Regions from separate parts of the Homo sapiens genome. Here region 2 is linked to region 1. The links are contacts of gene promoters, found by promoter capture Hi-C in human tissues and cell types (Jung and others, 2019). All regions are on one chromosome and are shown on one strand. The core of a region is centred on a gene start or on the middle of the fragment in contact, and the rest is flanking DNA. Distances in the headings are between cores, read along the strand shown. Region 1 holds the start of TMEM132D (transmembrane protein 132D). Region 2 has its middle 50 kb from the start of TMEM132D.

Evidence for each region. The method cuts DNA at HindIII sites, captures the fragments that hold promoters and counts their contacts. A contact is called where the count stands out against the background at its distance.
Region 2: a fragment that was not itself captured here is called in contact with the fragment with the promoter of TMEM132D in region 1 in 3 of the 25 tissues and cell types used here (aorta, spleen and stomach).

Annotation. Positions count from the first base shown.
Region 1 is chr12:129,900,527-129,906,538 of GRCh38, forward strand. It overlaps TMEM132D (transmembrane protein 132D), which reads right to left and starts at 3,499. Exons shown (of 9, transcript NM_133448.3): 1 at 2,735-3,499. The coding sequence starts at 2,813. The HindIII fragment of the contact is 10,076 bases long and covers 1-6,012 here.
Region 2 is chr12:129,950,761-129,956,772 of GRCh38, forward strand. No RefSeq gene overlaps it. Among named protein-coding and RNA genes, the nearest start is that of TMEM132D, 50 kb to the left of the region's middle. The HindIII fragment of the contact is 7,079 bases long and covers 1-6,012 here.

The DNA of each region.
Region 1 (6,012 bases), core at 2,249-4,748:
ACCAGCATGTGCAAGGGAACATAACTGGGAAGGATGCACGTGAGGACTGTAACAAGCAACCTAAATGTGGCAACCCTCTTGACTTTGTATTTAAAAATCACCTTGCCCTCTGCCCAACTCCAATCTCCTCACCCATTTTTCCTCTCAGCCCACCCTCCATACACCTGCCCCCTCCCATAAAGTTCACAGTAATGCATTAAAGCTCATCTGCAGGCTAGCACCATTGCAAACTACATCAAGCTGCCAGCAAAGCTAGACCTTAAACATTTAAGGCCATTCCCCAGAAAAATTAGGGGCCATAGGACAAGGCTGCTGGGGAAACTCCGTGTGTCATACCATACTTCCTAGGTCCCAGGGGCATAGAAATACAAGCAACAAAACTTTATGTTTATTTGTTTTTAAAAAATATCTACAAGAGGGTGGGTTTGTTCTATAACTAATCATTTTCTGCTTATGAAATATAAACGTGTAAGGCTCAAGCATATTAACCTGGTATTAAAATCTGCCCTTTGTTTCATTCAAAAATTCCTATTTGGAAAGACAATACAGTAGAAATGATAATATGTGGAAACAGATATTTAATACTTGATAATATTCTTTTTCAATCAGCCCCAGACAAATGAGGCACTTTGGGGTATGTGTGTATGTGTGTGTGTCTGTGTGTTTACTTTCAATTAAAATCCTTTTCAATATAGTCCATACTTGATTGCAAGATGGGTGAGAACTTTCAAGTGATCAGAGAATCTTAGAGGGAGGTGATATGAACACATTGGGAAAAGAATGGCCCTGTCCCTGAATGTATAAATCACATCTGCATCATGAAATTCCATTTTATGCAATTTGCTAATAGGGGTGTTGATTTTTTTCTTGTTCTTTGACATATTGTGACTAATCCTGAATCATCTACCATGTGCTCAGACTCTGCTAATTGCTGTACAAAGTCTCCACACAGAACTGATTCACTTTTGAACTGTCTGGCTGACTTGCTTAAGTTCAATACACAAAATATGTCATATGCTAGGCTTATCGTAAACATTTTACGTGCTAATTTTTGGCCACCTAGTAAAGAGGCTTCCACATCACACAGGACCTCATTTAAGGACATGTTCAGTGTTCCCAGTTGAAAAAGTTCACAAGTATTAGGCTAAATACAATTCTCTTCAACACTGCTCAGTCTAATAAAGAAATCAGTAACAGACCTATGTACCTAAGTGAAAAAACACAATAGTGAGGTCCTATTTCCAAAGCTATTCTGTACCTTTCTTAATACAACCTTGTTATTGCAGCATAAACACAAAGAAGTCTGGACCTATTATAAAACCAAGTGAGAACCAACCCCCCCCGCCCCAAAAAAAAAATGCTGGGCTGTTGTTGCTGTGGATTTTGGTTTTTTTAACCTCACGTCTGCCTGAGTCAGGTTCACTGAATTCATCAACCTTTTCTTTGGTTTCCTGTGCACATTATAAATCCAGAAGGCTCTGATCCCAGGGATTGTTCTAACTCATAATTAGGAAACGTGAGCCCATTTCAACCACACTTCAAAGACAGGGAAGGAGGGGGAACGTAAATTCCTCTTTCTAAATCGAACCATCACAGAACTCGGCATTTCAACTGTCTTCATCTATTATCAGATCCAAAGCAACATAACCTCAGTGATTCTGGAAGAACTCAGAGAACAGACAATTCATGTAATTAAAAGACTTTGTGCGTGATAATTGGCTTTGAAGTTTCTGAGAGAGATCTCATCTCAAAAATCTTTGCAGAAAAATATGGGTACAGGGTTCTTGCAGCACGTATTAGAGACTGCTGAGACGCTTCACTCTCCTCCCAGTGTATCTATCTGCAGGAAAGGGGCACGGGTGGGGGAACCACACACAAGCAGCCCAGGTCAATCATGAGAAAGAATCTCCCGCACAAATCACACCATTTCTCTTCAAGGAAGAATGACTGTCCAGAGCTTCCAAACTTGCTCTTCCCATGACAGACAGGGATGCTGGCAGAAGAGAAGAGGAAACATTGAGGAATTCCTGCCTTGACACATGGCTTCAAGTCAGGGCTCCGCTGGGAAAATTCGGGTCACAACTTGTAGCTGAAACTCCACGTGCACCCTGCGGGGCCGCTGCTGCTCCCAGCACCCTACGGAAGGGTGAGCGCCAGACCCTGTGCCCAAACCTCACAGCGGCAGACCTGGAGAAACCCATCCCCCTTCTTCAGAGCCGCCCCCCAGGCTATATTTTTGGCAGCCTATAATACACAAAATAGTATTCCCATACAACAGGAGTGCTCCAAAATTATTTCCAAATAGGTCAGTGCCACCAGGGAAAGTCAATCCCAAATTCCAGAAATCTCCCTGGTCATCTCAATCCCCTCCTCCCCCGACAGCCGGCTCGGCCCTCCAGAGGCCACCTTTCCTCTCAAGGGTCCCCACGCCCTCTCCCTTTACAGAAAAGGCTTTCAGGAAACAGCCTTCCTTTCCTTTCGGCTCCTTAGTAGTCTCACCTAAGGCCTCCCACCCAAGTGCTCCAGGACAAGCACCTTCGGCCAAGGGGCGTCCGAGGAGCTTGGCTGCCGCACGAGCGCACGTTCACACGCGCGCACACACACATGCACACAAGCGCGCACACACACTTGCACACGAGCCCTCTCTCCCGGCCGCCCCCATCCTCCACACACTCCCACACACTCACTCCAGGCGAAGTTAGTCCCCGGGCCCTGGCGGCCGCGGCGTCCTCACCTTTGGAAAACAGGGCGGCCAGGCTGATGAGTACCGGCGACCAGTGGTGCCACAGCGTCCCCATCTCAGACGGGCACATCCTGGAGACCCGGAGCGCAGATCCTCCGCTCCCCGGCGCCGTCCAGGCGAACAAGAGACCGTCTCAGTCCCCTAGAGGCCCGCAGCGGGGCCGGTGGCGAGGGAGCGCCCGGCTAGGGGCCCGAGCAGCCCGGGCGCCCTGCTCCCTCTTCCCGCCAGTCCATGGCCAGGCCGGGAGGCGACGACCGCGCGGGCTCCTGAGTTGCTCTCCGGAGTCCAACACGCGCGCAGGCAAACCCCACCTCCCTCCTTCGACCCCAACAGAATTTTTTTTAAATTTTAATCCACAGGGGGTATTTCCTTTCCTGTTTACCCGAGCGAAGAGTGGCCCCCGGTGGCCCAAGGAGGGGCGCCTCCAGGCGCAGGGCTCCGGCGGCTCCAGCTGCTCCCGGGCTGGCTAGCGGGCGCTGGCGCAGGCGGCGCCGGGGTGGCGGGGCTGCGGAGCCCGGGACGCGGGCAGAGGCGGCTCGGAGCCCCCCGGGCGGGTGGCCGGGCTCGCTGGGCGGCCCGGGGCTCCCTGGCCCGCAGCCCCCATCCCAGGCCGGCCGCTGCGCCTCGGGGCTCGGGCGCGCGCGCGCTCCGGCACCCAAAGTTTGGCGGGTGCGGCTGCTCCCCGGCCGCCGCCTCGGCCCGCCCGGCCCCGGGCCCGGCTGGGGCTCGCGGGGCTCTACGCGCGCCGAGCGCACTGCAGGCTCCGGAGACGCGGGGCTCCCCCCTGCGCCCGGGGGAGGCGGGCCAGATGTGCGCGGAGGAGGGCCCGCCGGCTCGGGGACGCGGCCGAGCAACGCAGCTGCCTCCTGCCAGCAGGCGCGGGGGCTCCGCTCCGCAAGGACCGCATCCGGAACGGAACGGAGGCGATCGCCACGGTGCCCGGAGCCGGCTGGGGCTTTCGCCTTAAAAATTTGTCTGCTTTTAAAAAGCCCCACCCTTTCGGAGTGACAGCTGTGAGCCCCAATCCGCAAAGTAAATCCCACCTCCCCCTGGCCGCCCCACGCCCAGCCTCCCGGCCACCCTCCCTGCGAGCGCGGACGCGCGGTGGCGGCGGGCGAGGGCTCCCAGCGCGGGCGCACCCCGGGGACGGAGCCACCCACTCTCCCAACAGGTGTCCAGCTGGCCACCGGCCTCTCGTCGTCATCAAAACCTCAGGCCCAGGGGAGGTCCTCCAGCCCGGGGGCACCTGAGGCTCTTCGCCAGGGAGAGCGCAAGGATGGCTGGAGAAGGGCCCTCGCCCCGCCCTGCGCATCTCCCAGGGATCGCAGTGAGGAAGTCTCTGACACGCCACACTGAGGTCATGCTGGCCCCAAGCCCCTTCCCAGAGCGATCCCCCAAGTTAGTGTCCCTAGAAACATGTCGTGTGCTCCCCAGGGCTCACTGGGAAAGGAAATGGATCCATTAGGAGACAACATTGCTTTGAGAAGATAAAAGACATGATTCTCAACACCGCCCGGAATCTCCAACTAAGACATTCCCACACCAAGATCCCTAAGCACCGTCCTGTAATTTGTAGCCCAAGAACTGCTTTGCTCCACGAGAGCCTTTAAATTAACCCCATCAAAGCTCAGAGGGAAGAAAAGCATTCAGAATTTTTAAGGAATATTGTAAACCAACAAGCCCTGAATCTAATGAGGTGAATTCACCTCAGTAGATAAAAATGGGTCGTTATCATCTGACTGAGGGGGCAATGGACTTTTTTATCCTGTATGCCTGTAGTTGCAGAAATATACCAATGCTTTAAGAGTTTTTAGCTTTCAAAGTTTCAAGGAAGATCAAAAAAGCCACTGCTGTTCTACCGAAGATTGTTTTTCTGGGTTCATGTCCTTTGAGATGTGCTCTTGTCTTTTATTCTGTATCTACTTATCTGAATATATCTGTCTTTCTGTTTTTTCTTTTGTTTGTTTCTTAAACTTGTTGCCTTTTCTCTTTGTATTGCTCTCCTGTAAAATTCCTAAGAGTCGACGCTGCAAAGACCCTAAGAGATTGTCTCTTTCACTGTTTCTGAAGTTTGAACCAGCAGGAGAGTCACTGGAAAATTTGTTAGACCTGGGTTGCTGGGCCCACCCCAGAGCTATCTCGGCAGGTCAAGGTGGGACTTCCGATCTCCGTTCCTAAAAAGTTCCAGGTGATGCTGATGCTGCCGGCCTGCGGAACACGTGCTGGAACCACTGGTCCCCTTTCTCCTTCACCTGAGTGATGAGAGAGCTGAGCTTTCGTCTCTTGGACACCTTCACCTGGTCTCTGAGTGTCAAAATTGATGCCCGCACTGAATGCATAATCCAGGTTCCATCCTTAACGCTACAGTGGGTCTGAGTCTATTTGTAAATCATCTATTTGTGACACTGAGTCTATTTGTAAGACATTTCTCAGACATATTGACTAGAAACAAGTGGTCCCTGTTCTTTATTAAAAACAATCATTTTATGTTTCTCTAAATCAAATTGAGTTTTTCCCCTGAATTGCAATCATCAAATAACTTTTCTTTTTGCCATTGCAGAAGGTTTCTCTATCTGTAATGTGAAGACAAAAGGTGACTGTCAAGTTCCAGCTGCTGCCTAAAATGTTAAACGGTTTCTTCATTATGCGTAGTTGGCGAAACAAAAGTTTTTTCCACTCTTTGGTATGGAAGATTTTTTGGGAAGATGCAACTTCAGATACCTAATCAGTGGCTAAAATAAGATGCAAGAATGGCTTCTTACTTTTTCTCTCTCCAGTATGCCATTCTCCCTGGTACATCTAATCTTCTTTGGGTAATTAACACAGCTAATTGTGGGGAAGCAAAACTTAGACTTGGAGATGGACACTGAGGGCTCATAGGTCCCTAACTCCAGCCCCTGCCCCAGGACAACTTCCCATCAAAATCGCCTGCCTTGTCTCTCTCAAGTTACTTGTAAGAAATCTGCTTTCCTCCAAGAATATGTGTTTCATCTGCGGGGCCATAAATCAAGCTGTAAGCCTAATTTTGTCGGTAATTAAATTGCACTAATTGTTCATGCTGTGTGGATGAGGCTTTTACACTAAGCAGTTTTTGTTGTTATTTTTCAATAAAACAAAAACATTCCCTGTAGCAGTTTTTGAGAAATGGCAACTTTGAGCGTTGATAAAGGCAGAAAGGAGCTGGAATTCAAGTACTGCAGGGGCTATGCCACTGGTGGATGAGAGGACACTTTCAGGCCCTCTAAAGATGGGGCCTCCTGTAAAACTGA
Region 2 (6,012 bases), core at 1,486-3,985, 49 kb after region 1:
ATGGAGTTTCCAACTGTATGAACCACAAAAATCTCCTTTTCTTCTTATGCCAGTTGGAGTCAAGTCTCTTATGCAATGGAGACTTGTCTCCATTAGAAATTTCCAATGGAAATTTGAGCACCAGCCCAGTGATCAAAATATTCCTCCATAAGCAAAATAACTCTTGATATTAGTCAACTATGGATGGCCAACGTCAAAGAAAATAAATTATTCTGACACTTGTTAAAAATGATAGAAAAGGGGCCAGGCACAGTGGCTCATACCTGTAATCCCAGCACTTTGGGAGGCCAAAGCAGGGAGGATCATTTGAGTGCAGGAGTTCAAGACTAGTCTCGGCAACATAGTGAGACCCCGACTCTTAAAAAAAAAATACAAAATATTAGCTGAGTCAGGCATTAGCCTAGGACCAAAGTGAAGTCTGTGAGGGTCTGCCCTGGCCCTTGAGCTGAAGATATGATGGGAGAGACAAGCTTACCTTCCCAATGCTGATTTGAATGAGCCAGCAGAAAGACAACCAGAAGTGGCAATCACAATTTGTTCTCCTGAGAGACAGCCTGTCTTAAAATGAAGCCCGCATGAGGAAAGCAGTACTGAGGAATAGACAGTAGCACAGGTTTCTAACCACATCTTATGAGCCTCCAATTCCTACCCTCCCTAAAGCCAGGACTTTCTGAAGTCTACACTTCCCATTAAGTGAACAAGTGGATGATTATTTATTAAGCAAACTAGAGTTCATTGTCTATCATTTGAAAGTGAAAAGATTTTATTCGTCAACACATGAATATTTCAAAAAACTCAATAGTAACCTTAGATTTAGGATGATCAACTGGGCTGGTTTGTCCCTGAATCCTCTAAGTTTAGTGCTGGAAAATCTCACATCCTAGGAAACCTCTCAGTCCTGGAATATCAGGATGGTTGGGTCCCCCCTAGGTCAGCCTGTTAAAAAAGGTTAAGGAAAACTGATTTTCACTTTACTGCAGGTGTGTATGTGGATAAAATGAAAACCAGAATCAGCTAGGATTCACTGAGCACTTATCATGTGGCAGATGTTCTGATTAGAACTTCTCATATGCTACTTCAGATACACATGACAGCCTTGGAGAAGGGAATCTTAATATTACTCCCATTTTGCAAATGAGGAAATTGAAACACAGAGAGATTAAAAAATAAAGTTCTTAAAGATGTGCAACTTGTCCTGTTCTTAAACTGCTGGTTTCTCTAGAACACATTAAATGGAAGCAGATGATCAATAGCTTTGACCAGAAACTTCAGAGTGTTGGTGGTAGTGCAGCGGGAATGACAAGGAGCTTGGGGCTCCTCCCGCTCTGCAGGACCCAGTTTGATGTAGCTATTTTCAGTGGGAAGGCCATTGACTCCAGACAGTGGATTGAGATCCAAGCAGGTTTGAGTTTCTGTTGACGCATGCTGTATTTGTTAGGCTGTGAGCTGCAAACAACAGAAACCAAGTTTAGCTAACTTAAGCAGAAGAGATTTATTCAGAGGACCTTGGGCAACTCACAGACTCTCTGGATTTAAAAGCCATGCAGACAGGAATAATGGCAGAGGTGATGTTGGGGATGTGGTGTGAGAATGAGGCATACATCCCAGCCGCTGTGCAGATGGAGTCCTGATGCAGTCTGCCTGCGGGTTGCTGGTGTGCACCCTCTGATCCACAGCAGAATGGAGATGAGACCACATTTTAAACTTTCTGGACCGGAGCCACACAATCTGCTTTTGAGTGTGCTAGCTGGACTCTCAGGCAAGCCTTCTCCTCATGGCGGCCCCAGCCAGCTCTTGGTTTACCTCTTTTTCTAGAGTAATTCCAGATGAAAGAGACCATTGTTTCCTATATTAGATGTAATGGTCCCCACCCCTCCCATCTGCCTAAGATATGTCAATCTGAAATCTGTGAATGTGAACTGACTTGGAAAAAAAGGTGTCTTCATCAGTGTAATTAAGTTAAGGATCTTGAGATGAGATCCTCTTGGATTAAGATGTGCCTTAAATGCAATGACAAGTATCAGAAGAGAAGGCCAAAAAAAAAAAAAAAAAAAAAAAAGAGGCCACATAGAAGGGAAGGCATGAAAAGATGGAAGCGGAGATTGGAGTGATGCGTCTACACGCTGAAGAGTGCTAAGGATTGACAGCAGCCACCCACCAGGAGCTGGGAGAGAGGCATGGACGCATTCTCCCTAAAACACTCCAGGAGGAACCAACACTTACGCTCCTTGATTTCAGACTGTGAGATGATAAATCACTGTTGTCTTAAGGCACCCAGTTTGTGGTAATTTATTACGGCAGACCTAGGAAATGAATGCACTTCTTAAATGTCCCCTGCAAAATTTCCAAAATTGTATTTCATTGGCATGTTTGGGTAACATGCCCAACTTGGACCAATTCCGTATGGCCCTTGGATGTAGCTGAGCCACTGAAGTAATGCCTCAGCACTTCTGCTTTGTGAGAAAAATAACCAATTATATAAATTATTAGCAATGACTGTGTTTCTAATTAATACAAGTCTCCTCTCCATAATACAGAGGAGGAAATTGAGACACAGAGGGATGACGTGCCTTTTGCAAGCTGGTGAGCAGCTCATCCATGCCCAATAATCCAGGGTGCAGAATAGGCCAACTGGCCAAGTCTGGGATACGTGCCATCTTCTGGAGCCAGATGTTGGGAGTGTTTTAGCCTTAAACAAATGACATGAACTTGGCTTGAAAGTAAGATGGTTCCCCAAAGTAAAAGCAAAGCATTGTTGACAGAAGTAGAGAAAAGCAATGCTCAACAGCTGTTTTGGATTGAATTGTGCCCCCCCAAAGTCATAGGTTGAATCCCTAACCTCCAATGTGACAATATTTAGAGTCTTTAAAGAGGTAATTAAAGTTAAACAAGATCATAAGGATGAGAACCTAATTCAATAGGACTAATGTCTTTATAAGAGGAAGAGACATCAGATCTCTCTCTCTCTCTCTCTCCCTTTCTCTCTGTGCACACAGGGTTAAGGCCGTGTGAAGACACAGCAAGAAGGTGGCCATCTGCAAGCCAGGGAGAGAGCCCTCATTAGAAACCAAACCTGCGGGTACCTAAATCTGGGATTTCTAGCTTCCAGGATGATGAGAAAATACACCTGTGCTGTTTAAGCTACCCAGTCTGTGGTATATTTGTTATGGCAGCCTCAGCTGACTAATACCATAGGCAAGAATAATTAATACATTTTATAAATCTCATATAGCTAAGAACCACCTGCTGCCCACCACCCTGGGTAGAAGGTTAACGAGAACAGAAGATTGTGCAGCCACTGCAATTGCACCCCGTCAATGTTCTTCTCTTCTTCCTGGGCACACAGTAAGACTGCATTTCCAACCCCTCTCCCCACAGCCAGATGGAATCACGTGACGGATTATGGGTCAATGAAACGCAGAGAACTGATACACGTTACCTGAAGGCCTGGCCCTTAAAAGCTACTCATGCATGGTCCCCTTAATCTTTATGGACTGGCTTGTGAAAGGGATCCGGAGAAGGTTCAAGCCATGAGTGGAAGGGGCCTGGATCTTTGAGTGTCTACACAGAGAAAAGACTCTCTGTCTACACAGAGAAAAGACTCTCTGACAAATCATGTTGTGTTGTAATGTGAAGGAGAACTAGACTTACTGTGTTAAAACACTGAGATACTCGACTTTATCTGTTTTTCTAGCCAGTATTACTTATCTTCATTAATCAGAAAGAATCCAATCAATATACCAAATAGTCAAGATTTGGGGGTTTTAGTTTTCTAGTCGTATGATTACCAGTGACATTCATGCTTGTTTCTGAGGTTTTCTGTGTTTTTCAGATTTTTAATAAAGGAAATGTTTTCAAGTAAGAAAAAACGTGTATTCTTATAAAGTTGGCTATGAAGGATTTGTAATGACACGGCAGCCACTTCACCGTGCATGACTTTCTACAGGCATGATATGAACTCTATTCCCATGCTGTGCAAAGCATCTGTGAAGGTTCCTCATCTATGTGTAGTTGGTTTTTTTTTTTGTTTGTTTGTTTGTTTTGACGGAGTTTTGCTCTTATTGCCCAGGCTAGAGTGCAGCGGTGCAATCTCAGTTCACTGCAACCTCTGCCTTCTGGTTTCAAGCAATTCTCCTGCCTCAGCCTCCCAAATTGCTGGGATTACGAGCATGAGCCACCGCACCCAGCCTATCTTTGTGTAGTTTTGATTGTGAGGAACAGAATCCCGCTCAAACTAGCTCAACAAAAGGAATTTAGTCAAAAGCAGGGACCACCTTGCAGAACCCAAAGTTAAACTAAATAAAGAGAGCAGGGAAACTCCATGGCCTCCCCAGCAGGAGCCTGTGGCCTCTCATGCTTGTGCCCAGCCATCAGCGAGACTTCTCACCAACCCCCGTCACTTCCTCTCTTGAGGACCGCGAGCTGCCATGTGTCTCCACTACCCATATTTGAGGTTCCTCCTCCACCACCTCCAAGTGTACATCACTCTACAGGAGCAGGATCTCTGGGAGACTCAACCTCTGTGTCAGCTTACAGTCTCAAGAGAGAGGCCTGTATTGGGCTCTGTCTCATTTGAAAGTTGCTTCCTTCCGGGTTTGATGTGCAATTGTGTCCTGTGCAGGCATAATCTGACCTTCAGCTGCCAAAGCACACCCTTCAAAAGACCTGTGGGTGGGCAGGAGAATTCCAGAGAAGAGAAGGGTATGACAGCAATAATTGATATGTCTAGTACCTGGCTTGCCTAGAAGAAAACACACAAAATTGTAAGATTGGATGTATCACTACTACCATTTACTAACAGTTGTCAAGCAATAACTACCTTCCTGGCACCATCTCCCACTGTAATGGAAAAAATAAACTTTAATAAAAATTTTAAAGGGATAAAAAGAGATCCCAGCAGTAGTAGTAATATTTAGAGACAAGTTACTTAAGACATTAAGAAGTTCATCAAGATCTCATCAAGAAAACATTAAACTAACATGATGCTGAAATACTGATCAGGCCAAAAATGCTATGATTCTGTGGAAGTATATACAACTCATACAATATTATGAATATCTACTAAAATGAGGAGAGGCATTTCTGGAATATCCAACATGAACTGTTGCTAGGCCAACACAACAACAATCATCAATAATTATTGAGCATCTGGGTATTTCACAAGTGCTTTTATTTAATCTTCCCAGGGCCATTTAGCTAACTCAAAATCCATTTTAACTCCCCCTTTTACTGCTGCTTCAACTCAGGATGAAAAAGTAGATATCTCTTTCCCTACAGCAAAGGGAAGCCTTGTGACCTTGTACTGGTCAATAACATACAGCAAGTTTGGGCCAGGTGCGGTGGCTCACACCTGTAATCCCAGCACTTTGGGAGGCCGAGGTTGGTGGATCACGTCAGGAGATCGAGACCATCTTGGCTAACGCAGTGAAACCCCGTCTCTACTAAAAATACAAAAAATTAGCTGGGCGTGATGGCGGGCGCCTGTAGTCCCAGCTACTCGGGAGGCTGAGGCAGGAGAATGGCGTGAACCTGGGAGGCAGAGCTTGCAGTGAGCGGAGATCACACCACTGCACTCCAGCCTGGGCGACAGAGTGAGACTCTGCCTCAAAAAAAAAAAAAAAAAAAAAAAGGTACAGCAAGTTTGGTAACGCTTGTGCTTTCTTATTTCTTATTTATTTTCTCATTTAAACAAACGGGGACAAAAAAAGAGAGGAACAGTATGGCTACCACCATCCTCAATTAATCCTGCCTTAAACACTGATATGATGACAGGAGCTGTGGCAGCCATCCTGTGAGCACGAGGAAAGGATGAAGGGATGCATAGGCATAAGGCCCTTGGACACAGCTGAGCCACTGGAGCGATGCCTCAGGACTTCTGCTTTGTGAGAAAAATAACTCTTTACTTGTATCAACTATTAGCAACTAGTGTGTTTCTAATTAATACACATCTCATCTCCATATTGCAGAGAAGGAAACTGAGACATAGGGGGGTTACGTGGCTTTCCCAAGCTG